2 separate regions of the Homo sapiens genome follow, and region 1 is linked to region 2. The links are contacts of gene promoters, found by promoter capture Hi-C in blood cells and fetal thymus (Javierre and others, 2016). All regions are on one chromosome and are shown on one strand. The core of a region is centred on a gene start or on the middle of the fragment in contact, and the rest is flanking DNA. Distances in the headings are between cores, read along the strand shown.

Region 1 (5,460 bases), core at 2,456-4,955, 510 kb after region 2:
GATGGTCTTGATCTCTTGACCTCGTGATCCTGCCCGCCTCGGCCTGCCAAAGTGCTGGGATTACAGGCGTGAGTCACCATGCCTGGCCTGCATTTTTTTTTTTAAGAGACAGGGTCTTGCTCTCTGGCCCAGGCTGGAATGCAGTGGCACCATCATAGCTCACTGCAGCCTCCAACTCCTGGGCTCAAGTGAACCTCCTGCCTCAGCCTCCTGAGTAGCTGGGACTACAGGTATGTACCACCATACCCAGCTAGTTTTCCTTTTTAATTTTTTTTTCCTTTTTTATATCTTGTTGCATATCAACATTTTTTATTTTTAGTAGAGACAAGGTCGTGCTATGTTGCTCAGGTGTTCTCAAACTCCTTGCCTCAAGAGATCCTCCCCTCAGCCTCCCAAAGCTCTGGGATTGCAGGCTTGAGCCACTGGAGCTGGCCTGAGACTCTGCATTTCTAACAAGCTCCCAGGTGATGCCAAAGATGCTGGTCTCTGGCCCATGCTTGGAGGTGGGAGGGACTAGTCTCTCATTTTGAAGATGGAGAAACTAAGACTGAGAGAAGGAGGCAACCTGCCTAAGTCACAGGGCTGCTAAGTGATAGATCTGGATCTAGAAATCAAGTCCCAGGGGCTTTTGTTTCATTGTAGTGGCTGAGCGCCTTGACTTGAGTGTTACCCTCGGGGTAAGTCCCCAGGGACACCACCTTTCTCCTTCCTCGGCTGCATATATTGGGGCAGAGGCCCTTTGCCACGACTCCCCCCACCACACGCTGTGAACCAGCTTCAGCTCTTTAGCTGGCCGCCTCAACAGCCCAGTGCCTCCCCTGGGCCATCCAATCCCATGTGGGGTGGGCCTGGAACTTCCCCTCGAGCTCAGAACAGTTCCACCCCCTGCAGCTTCACTCCCACTTCACAGACTCAAACTCCCTCCCAAGGGTGCAGGGAGGATCTGCAGTCCTGGTCTTTGCAGTCCTCTCTGTCTCTGGGCCACCACCAAGTGGGATCTCCAGGGTCCTCAGGAGCACTCCTCCTGCCAGCGGGTACAAGTAAGTGGTGGGGAACTCGGTGGAGCTCGAGGAGGCAGCCAGGATGCGGCCCGCCCCCCAACCTGCCAGCCACCAGTTGCCAGCAGCTGATAATGATCTGCAGGGCCTGGGGGTGGAGGGGGGAGGGCGCAGAGCTAAAGCCTTGGGCTTTCGGGGTTGGGGCTGTGTCTCCCAGGACTTGAGTGGCTGGGCAGGTCTCTGTGCACATGTCTCTGCCGAAAAGGATCTTAGACAAACTCCCCATCCACCTCCTTCCTTGGCAGCCAAGAAAACAGAGGCCTGGAGAGAATAAGAACCTTGCCAACTTCCCCAGCCAGTGAGGGCAGGCGCAGAACCAGGCCTCTTCGTCCCAGGGGCACCGCAGGATTGCAGAACCCTAGAAAGCTTGGGTGAGGGCCATCTCAGGCATCAAGCCCAACACATTGGTTACCTCCAAGGTGCTGGCCCTGAGTGCACCGAGCTTGCTCTGTGCACCAAGTCATTTAGCTCTCACCACACCCATGAATGGAGCAGCACCCTGCTCATGGCATTCTAGGGACGAAGCTGGGGTCTCAGAGTGGGATCGGAGCCTGCCTCTGCCCATGTTCCCTAAGCCTCCATACCGCACATGCAAGCCTGTCCTTCCAGGGCACAGGGTTGACTCAGCCTAGGCTGAAGCCCAGAAGTTTGCGATCATTTGTCTCAAATAGGCTTCTCTGACCTGAGAGCAGCACTTTGACCTCACCCTCAACACTCCACCTCTCTGTCACCCAAGAGGAGTAGCTTCTCCCAGCAGGCTCCGCTCCTCCCATCGTTTCGTGCTCAACGGCAAGGTAAAAGAGACCTCATTTTCAAAACTGGGACCCAGAGCCACACATGCAGAGAACGGAGGAGCTAGGATTCCAGTGCCTGGCTGGGCCCATACTCTCTGCTCAGCTGCCCACATTGACATCAGCGGGAGACAGGCACAGACTTCTGCCCACACGTGCTGGTCTCACCACTGACCAAGACCCAATCAGCTACAATGAGGAGAGCCTTGATGCAGGGGTGCGGCATCAGAAAAGGAAAGCTCCCGGTTCACCCCAGAGTTGCCTTAGAGCGATGGTACCCAGCTCCTGGGGCCTGGCAAGGGGGACATAGGTTTGCTCTCGTATCCTGGATTCAAGCAGTGCTTTCCAGGGCAGTGGCAGCCCCAGCCCTTTGCTGCTAATTTTCAGGGCTGGAGGCCAGGAAGGAAAACCCCAGCAGCTCTGTCTTGCCTCCCTGCTGCTCCACAGTCCCTCCACTGGTATGTACCCTTGGCCCCATAAATTCTACTGACTGCATCACTGTTGGGATTGGCAGTGGCTGCACAGGTCTGTGGAGACTGGGTGATCCACTTACTCCCAAGATGGTTGGCTGTCCCCGGAAAAAGAGCTTCTCTCTGCTGGGGTGGGCATTGCCCAGGGTCTCAGCCTACCAGGATGGCTCCTCTGGGCTCTGCCATGGCACCCCTGAGTTTTCAGAAGGAGGGAGCCTCACTAATTGCTGCTGCCCTGTCAGCTGGCTTCAGAAGGCAGGTGGGCTGTGGGCTGGGCTGCCTCATGTCTCCTGGAGGGAGCTGGAGCCTGGGTCTTGCTTTTGACATTTCAGACACCTGCAGCACACACAACTGGGGTCCCAGGATGAGGAAGAACATTCACAGGCAGATCCCCATTTCCTGGGTCTCAGTTTTCCCATCTGAAAAGTGAAGCTACGTCACCAGGAGGAGTGATTGGTAAAACATGAATTGTGTGTAATTCTTAGCAGCTAAAAGCAAAGGTCAGGATGTCCACAGAGAGCAACGTGGTGGCTCTTAGACACAGGCTGAGAGGGGGAAAAAAAGAACCAAAATGAGACAAAACAATACCATACACACAAGTTAAATATGTGTACACTAATATCCTGTAACACAACATGCATTAAAACGTGCTGAAGTTGTTACCTGGGGCTGGAAGGCTGTGGGGAATGGAGGTAAAAGGGAGTTAATGAGACAGAGGTAAGGGAAGAAGTTTGGACCTGGTGACAACCACTACAACCTCATGCTTACCAGCATGCATTTATAATGTGGTAAGCCCAATCTCCATTTCACTCTTATGCAAACTGAGGACCAGAGAGGTTAAGTAACTTGCTTGGATGACACGGTTAATAAATAGTGGAGCTGGGATCTAAATCCAAGACAGCTGGCTAGAAAACCTGGGTTTTTTTCCTGCTTTACGATACATCCCCACTTATCTCCCAGGCCATTCCCTTCTAGTCCGCCAGGCTAGTTAATAACACCACCAACTCCACAGCCTACACCTGTCTGTATGGCTTGTTACCACTTACCTGGAGTCTTCACACATGGTCCTGTGCTTAATTACTAAGCCTCCTGTGTGATGAGGCCTGGGAGCAACCCTCCAGTTGGCTCAGGTCAGACAGACTGTAAATAGTCGGGCCTATATTGGAACCCATGGCTTCTGACTCCTGTCCAGTGTTCATCCCACTGCCTCCCTAAGCAAAAGTGAGAGACATTAAAAGAAAAATAAAAAGCAACACAAAAACAAAAAACCGAAAACATGCCTCCAATTCTAAGCAAACCCAGGAACAGAGAGCTGGGAGGTCCCTGGGATCCTAAGGCCTGAAGCTCTTGACCTTCACCTGGTCATGGGGCTCTCTGTCCAGCAGCCTGGACACATCTTCACCTCTCCTGATATCACTCCTTCTCTGCCTCAACCTGTGCTCTCACTGCCCTCCAAACATGCTTCACTGAGGTCATTGCTGAGCCTTTGCACAAGGCGTGTCTATGCCCTGCAACCCATTCCTTTTCCTTCTTTCTCCACCTGGTGTTTCCCAATCTTGCTTGATCATAAGAATCATCTGAGCACTTGCTGAAAATACAGTGACTTGGGCCTCACGTTTGGCCTTCTGAATCAGACTCTCTAGGGCAGGGGCCTGGGAATCTCCACGTTTAACATACCCCAGGTGACCCTTTCGATCAGGCCAGTTTGCAGGATACTGGCCCATCCAAACCCTCCCATCCTTCAGGCCCTGGTGGGTTTCAGTGGTGCCTGTGAGGTCTTCTGGCTGCGTAGCCCTCTGTGTTGATGATACAACCCCACACCCAAGCAGGTTCGTTAACCTCCCTGAGCTTTCATTTGCTCATCTCAAAAAGGGGGCAGAGGAATCCCTATTCCATGGGATCTTGTGAGATTAAATGGGATACTACATGCAAAGTGCCCGTGCAGTTCCCAGCACGTGGAGGTGGCTGCATCCATGTTAGCTTTTTCTTTCCTGCCAGACACAAATCAGCTGCAGAAATAATGGACTAGGGCCCTCTTGAGGCTTAAAACTGTGCTCACCCCTTGGGTCCTATAGACCTGTCTCAAACAGCTTGAGATGAGTCCTCGAGATGAGGCCGTCTGAGATGCCCACCTGTCCTCTGTGGAAATATGGGTACACCTCTCTGAAAAGCCTGTGTGTTTCTTTTGTAAGTGGGTATCTGCTAATCCTGACATCTGTCCAGGGCCATGTCTGAACCTCGGCAGTGGATTGGTGGGGCTGGCATGCTGGGAAGGCACCCCGAGCCTCAGGCTCATGGCTTCATGGAGCCCGTTGCAAAAGCCCTGCTCCTCCTGGCAGGTCAGCCCTGTTGCCACTTTCTCACTACTCCCTTAACTCTTTCTGGATATTTTTGGAGGAGTTATTTTTCTAGACTTCTCTGTCACCTGTTTGGGCCATGACAGTGGGGTAGAGCAACCATCAGGAAAAGCTGGTGGGTGATGCTATTGTGGGGATAGAGACCCCTACAGGTGATAGAGTTGGCAGAAGGAACTGGGAACATTCCTGACCATTCAGCAGGAGTTGGCAGGAGACTGCCAGTAGATGGAGGACTGTCTGGAGAGGGAGGAGACCCGGCTGCTTCTACTAACGGTACTGTGTGACCTTGGCAAGTCCTTTCCTATCTCGGGCCCCCACTTCCTCATCTGTGAAATGGAAGCATTAGACCCGATCATGATCCCCAAAGTCATTTCTGATTCTGACATTCTTAGTTTCATGGTTGGGATCAACTATACATTTCTACTATAATTTTTAAAAATTTAAACAGAAAAATAGCATCCATTGTCCAAACATGTGTGACTTCTGTGTCTAATACTTCTGAGGTCCTGCCTGGGCTCTGCCGATATTACCATATAATCCACATTTTCGGCAAGGCTCGGGGTCTCACTTGAGTTACCCACGGATTGTGCTGCACGACAGCTGCACTGGAATTCCAGTAAGTGTGCTTCCTTATGACAAGCCGTTCGACTTTCTGATCCTCAGCTTCCTCTTCTGTGTAAAGGGGGTGGTATTGTCATGGCCAGTCCACTGTAGGTGCTGGATAAATTCCTGCTGTTTCCTTTCTGCCCATTCAAGTTGGGGAGCAGGAGCCTGAGCCCAGCCC
Region 2 (5,064 bases), core at 484-2,983:
GCAATAGCATCTCTCAGTCAAAGTGTAAGGAGCTTTAGCTTGCCCAAGGCTGGGATCCTGCTTTGAGACCATGCTGCCATTCCCGTCCCGGCCCTGTATGACTCACCATGGTGTGGAGGCTCTGAAACAGGCTGAGTTCACACCGTTGCACTGAGCTGCTGGAGGATGGACAATCCTGTGCTACCTGGGTCTGAGTACAGTGGAGGCAGCAGCAGCACCTGCAGGAGTGGGTAACGATACAAGCTGCGGAAGGAACTCGCAGTCGACTGGCACAATCACGCCTTCAGCACCCTAGTAATTAGGGAGCTGCCCCAGACTTCGGTCCAAGTCCAAACTCTAGTACATGGGCTACGGATGGAGAAGAGTGTGGGGCTGACCAAGGTTCATGCCTGCACTTCACTGCCAGAAGACAGATCAATCCATGTCAAGCACAGGTCTGCCTTTATGTCCAGGAACAGCACCCACTTCATCACTAAAGGACAGTGATCCTCAGAATAACTATCTTTTACACGGGCATCACATGCAGCGAAAAAGTTAACAAAGCTCGTCACACGCTTGCCCTCACTGGCCTTGGCACCAAAAGGGAAGGGAATGGGGGGAGCTAGCCAGGTTTGTGACCCATTTTACTTCTGGGAAACAGACTCAGAGAGCTCTAGGGACTTGTCCAAGGTAATACAGGTAACAGCCAGAATCTAAACCAATGTCTAGTTTTTCTACAGAGTGTGTTTTTACTACTGATAATTCAGTGCCTCCAAAGTCAGGCAGAGTCTCTGCTATGGGAAAGGCAAGATGTAAACCACGATGACTTTCTAGCTTTTCCTCAGTTCAGCCTGGTTCAGCAGCGTGTTGGCCTCTGTGTGGGTGCACAATAGGAAGAATCAACATAGCTCTGCCTCAGCCTACTTGGGGTTGTGGGGAGGGTCTTAGGTAAACCAATTCCTCCCTAAGCCTCAGCTTCCTCATCTGTAAAATGGGGGTTGGCTCCTCTCTGGCATTCTGCGAGTGTGCCAAGCCACGTGGTATTCCTCTTGTTCCCGGGGAGCCTGTTTGATGTGGGGTACCCTGGAGGCTGCAGGGCTGACGGCTCTCCTGGCTCATTAAGGTTCCCTACGGAGAAATACTGGTTTTGTGTTTGAGGTTCGAATTTGTAGAGCAATAGGGGCACTAATAACGTTGGGCAAGCAGACCGGTGGGCCCTTTGAAGTCTGAAGAATCAACGCGCAAAAGGGAGGAGGTGAGCAGGTGGTCGTTCAAACGTCAGGCGAGGGCACCAGCTGGATCTGGAGGAACTGAGACAGTGAAAGGAAAGCAGGCAAGGTTCTAGTCTGGGATATGCACGAATCGCGGTCTCCCTTCCCTCTCTATGCCTCCGCAGTCCTTCCCGTTCCCAAAGGAGGAACAGCCCGAGGGCTCCTGGAGCAACGGAAGGAGGACTGGATGCGGGGAAGGGCAAAGGGCGCGGAACGGGGTGGGGAGTCTGCGGGCGAGCTCGGAGGACACTGGCGCACCTCCCCCGCCGGCTCACGGCCGCATCCGCCACATCCGAAGGCGCCGCGACTTCCCGGAGACCCCGAAGCGTGCGCTCTCATCCGGGTCCTGCGGGCGCTGGCGGAAAGAGGCGAGGCGGTGCCTCCGGGGGCGGGGCCTCCTTCGGTTGGCGGCCTCGGGCTTCGGGAGTCCTCCAAGAGGCCAGGTGAGGCCGTCCCGTGATGCCCCGCGCCCCGGCCGCTCTGGCCTGCAACGTGTCTCTGGGGCGGAGGCAGCGGCAGTGGAGTTCGCTGCGCGCTGTTGGGGGCCACCTGTCTTTTCGCTTGTGTCCCTCTTTCTAGTGTCGCGCTCGAGTCCCGACGGGCCGCTCCAAGCCTCGACATGTCGTACAACTACGTGGTAACGGCCCAGAAGCCCACCGCCGTGAACGGCTGCGTGACCGGTGAGGCTGCCGGGGCCGGAGACCCCGGCGAGTGAGGGAGTTGGGGGGAGCCGCGGCCTAGGGAGGCCCGCCGCCCCGGGGGCGGCCGGGCAGGAGTGGGCCCGGCGAATGGAAGGCGCTGGCGGCCGAGGAACCTCCCCCAGCACCGCGACCTCGAAAGAGTCGTCCCTGTACGCGCTTTTTGGGGGTTGGAAGCCGCTCTCGAGGGTCCCCTTTCGTCCTGGGGAGGTCATTCGGCCTCGAGAACAGGGCGGGCCCAGTGAGACAGAGGAGTGTGAGTTGGTTGTGCGGTGTCGTTTGGGCCCGGAGATTGGCTTTCTGTGGCCAGGAAAAGGGGAGGTGGTAATGACGACTTTGGGGTCAAGATTTTCCTGTGGGGAAGTCTGGGGGGCCCAGGAGGTGGAGGGATGTGAGGAATGCCCGCATTATCCCACAGAGGGAGAGGAGCCCTCTTCAGGCTAACCCCTTTGCCTGGGGCTGTTGTTTACATGAGGGCCCTGCTGGAGAAGAGGGTTTGGTTTGCCTGGCCCAGTGCTGGGTTTGCCTTGTTGACGATGCGCTTGGATTGTTAAGGACACCGATGTTCAGAACCCGGGAAGAGTCATCTTAACCCACATTCTCAGCTGAATATGCAGACCCCAAGCTTGCATGTTTATATACACCCTAATCATGATTCCAAAACAAAACTGTTGTTCAGAGTTGGAGGTAGCTGAGTGTGGATGGAGGTATTGGTAGACTGCCAGGAGGGCAGGGGGTGTGGACAAAACAGTGTTTTCATATAAAGCTCTGGGACTTCTTCATTTGACTTGGTCTGTCAGATAAAAGTTTTGTGAGACTTTAGATGAAGACTGGAAGAAGTGAACACTTTCTCCGGCATTCTCAATTAGAGCCTGCCACTGTAACTGTAATAGAGTAAAATTGGAGGGGCAAGAGGCATGAGAAGGGATTACGCAGTCATTGTCATTTGGAGGACACACGGCTCTTAGGTCCAGTCCAGTTTTCTTAGTCTGATTAGGGAAGTAGCTTTGTTGAATGCATGAACTGAGACTCTTTGAGGTGCCGGATTTGGCAAGAAGGGGAGTAGCTGGAGGGAGTTGGAGAAGTATGTGAAGTAAATGAGAATTCTGGAGGTATTTAGACATAAGTGATAGGATTATTTTGAAGGGATGGGAGGCCCTTCCCCTGAGTTCAAAAGTTAGAGGGTCTGTTCTTTCAGGACACTTTACTTCGGCCGAAGACTTAAACCTGTTGATTGCCAAAAACACGAGATTAGAGATCTATGTGGTCACCGCCGAGGGGCTTCGGCCCGTCAAAGAGGTGGGCATGTATGGGAAGATTGCGGTCATGGAGCTTTTCAGGCCCAAGGTAAGTGTTGCAGTTGGGACAAGCAGTGGAGGGGGAACTGTTGGTCGTAGGTTGTTTTATGTTATTTTTGTTTGTTTATTTATTTTCTTTGAGACGGGGGTCTCACAGTGTTGCCCAGGATGTCTTGAACTCCTGAGCTCAAGCAATCCCTCCACTTTAGCCTCTGGAGTAGAGTAGCTGGGGTATTGTAGGCATGCCACCGTGCTTGGGCTGTGTTAGGTTGTTTTGCGAATTCTTGGGATGGGTGGAATATGCTTTAGGAGAAAAACTCTTCTCTTTTTTCTCTCTTTGGATAGCAAATTTCAGTATGTACTCTTGACCAAGCTTTCTAGAAGTAAAAGGAGAGATTCATTAGGGAAACATTTATGAAGTTGACTTCTTTAGAAGGGAGAAATTAAAGCAGTTTGTTTCAGAGGATAGGCTACAGAGTGGGGCAGTCCTGGCTTCATTTCTTGTTAATTCTGACTTTAGGTGCCACTTAAGGCACCTTTCAGATCAAATCCCCTGGGTTGTTGTGACGATGAAATGATTCAGTAACATAGGGCCTATCATATAGCAAGCATTTACAGTTATGTTAACAATTACCAGGCCGGGCATGGTGGCTCACGCCTGTAACCCCAGCACTTTGGGAGGCCGAGGTGGGTGGATCACGTGAGGTCAGGAGTTCGAGACCAGCCTGGCCAACATGGTGAAACCCCATCTCTACTAAAAATACAAAAGTTAGCCGGGTGTGGTGGCACGTGCCTGTAATCCCAGCTACTTGGCAGGCTGAGGCACAAGAATTGCTTGAACTCAGGAGGCGGAGGTTGCAGTGAGTGGAGATGGCGCCCATTGCCCGGTGACAGAGCGAGACTCCATCTCCAAAAAAAAAAACACCAAACAAAAAAAACAATTACCATCAGTATTTTCATTATTTTAGCGCAAATGTTTTCATCCAAATCACCACCACATTGCTTTATGTTGTCTTAACTGAATCTGGCAAGAAAGCAGTGGGTTCAAAATTTTAATTATAACCCTTTGAACAAAACAGCAATTTTTTGGAGTCTGTGTTAAATAAGTAGGACTTTGTTGATCCATTTTAGCTTCCGTTGTTATTCCCACATTTTTTTTCCTCTTTCTTCAAATACTTGGGGAGGAGTGGAGGAGGCATTACATTCATCTTTCAGAATTTGAATGGGATGATTGAGATTAGCTTGAGATTGAAATAGATGAAGACTTTGTTTGTAGAACAGAGAGATGGAGAATCATGAAAGTGAGAACTAGATGTTTACCAGCTTCAGTTCTGGCTTTTTGTACATGCCCTTAGGGTGTATGTGTACCTAGTGTGGGTTACAAGCTCACCATGTATTTTCTCTTTAGGGAGAGAAGAATTTGGAAAATTCTTAAAGAATTTGGTGTGCTTAAAGACTGGACAGGTTGTTCCTGTTTTAAAAAGAACCTCTTTTGATAGCATAATATTGGTTTCCAGGGGGAGAGCAAGGACCTGCTGTTTATCTTGACAGCGAAGTACAATGCCTGCATCCTGGAGTATAAACAGAGTGGCGAGAGCATTGACATCATTACGCGAGCCCATGGCAATGTCCAGGTGAGGTGGCTGCTTTAGGCCAATGAAAGTTTTCTAAGTAGGGCTGTCATGATTCATGGAAAAAATTAAAGTGCTGGGGGCAGCTCTCTATTCGATCAGAGAAATAAGGAGAAGACACTATGGGTTTGAGCTTTTTGGAGAAAGGACTCCTGTAGTTCACTCAAGACCCAAGGGACAGGGTAAT

Evidence for each region. The method cuts DNA at HindIII sites, captures the fragments that hold promoters and counts their contacts. A CHiCAGO score of 5 or more calls a contact.
Region 1: a contact is called between a fragment that was not itself captured here and the fragment with the promoter of DDB1 in region 2, in 1 of 17 cell types (naive CD4 T cells). The highest score is 5.6, in naive CD4 T cells.

The regions. Positions count from the first base shown.
Region 1 is chr11:60,817,666-60,823,125 of GRCh38, reverse strand. All of the region lies in intron 2 of LOC105369322 (a long non-coding RNA gene), which reads left to right. Among named protein-coding and RNA genes, the nearest start is that of CCDC86, 22 kb to the left of the region's middle. The HindIII fragment of the contact is 4,558 bases long and covers 1,427-5,460 here.
Region 2 is chr11:61,329,774-61,334,837 of GRCh38, reverse strand. It overlaps DDB1 (damage specific DNA binding protein 1), which reads left to right and starts at 1,733. Exons shown (of 27, transcript NM_001923.5): 1 at 1,733-1,930; 2 at 3,147-3,295; 3 at 4,764-4,880. The coding sequence starts at 1,870. It overlaps TKFC (triokinase and FMN cyclase), which reads right to left and starts at 1,610. Exons shown (of 18, transcript NM_015533.4): 1 at 1,509-1,610; 2 at 107-218. The coding sequence starts at 109. RefSeq lists enhancers at 1,126-1,648, 1,649-2,171 and a silencer at 1,471-1,730. The HindIII fragment of the contact is 9,653 bases long and covers 1-2,575 here.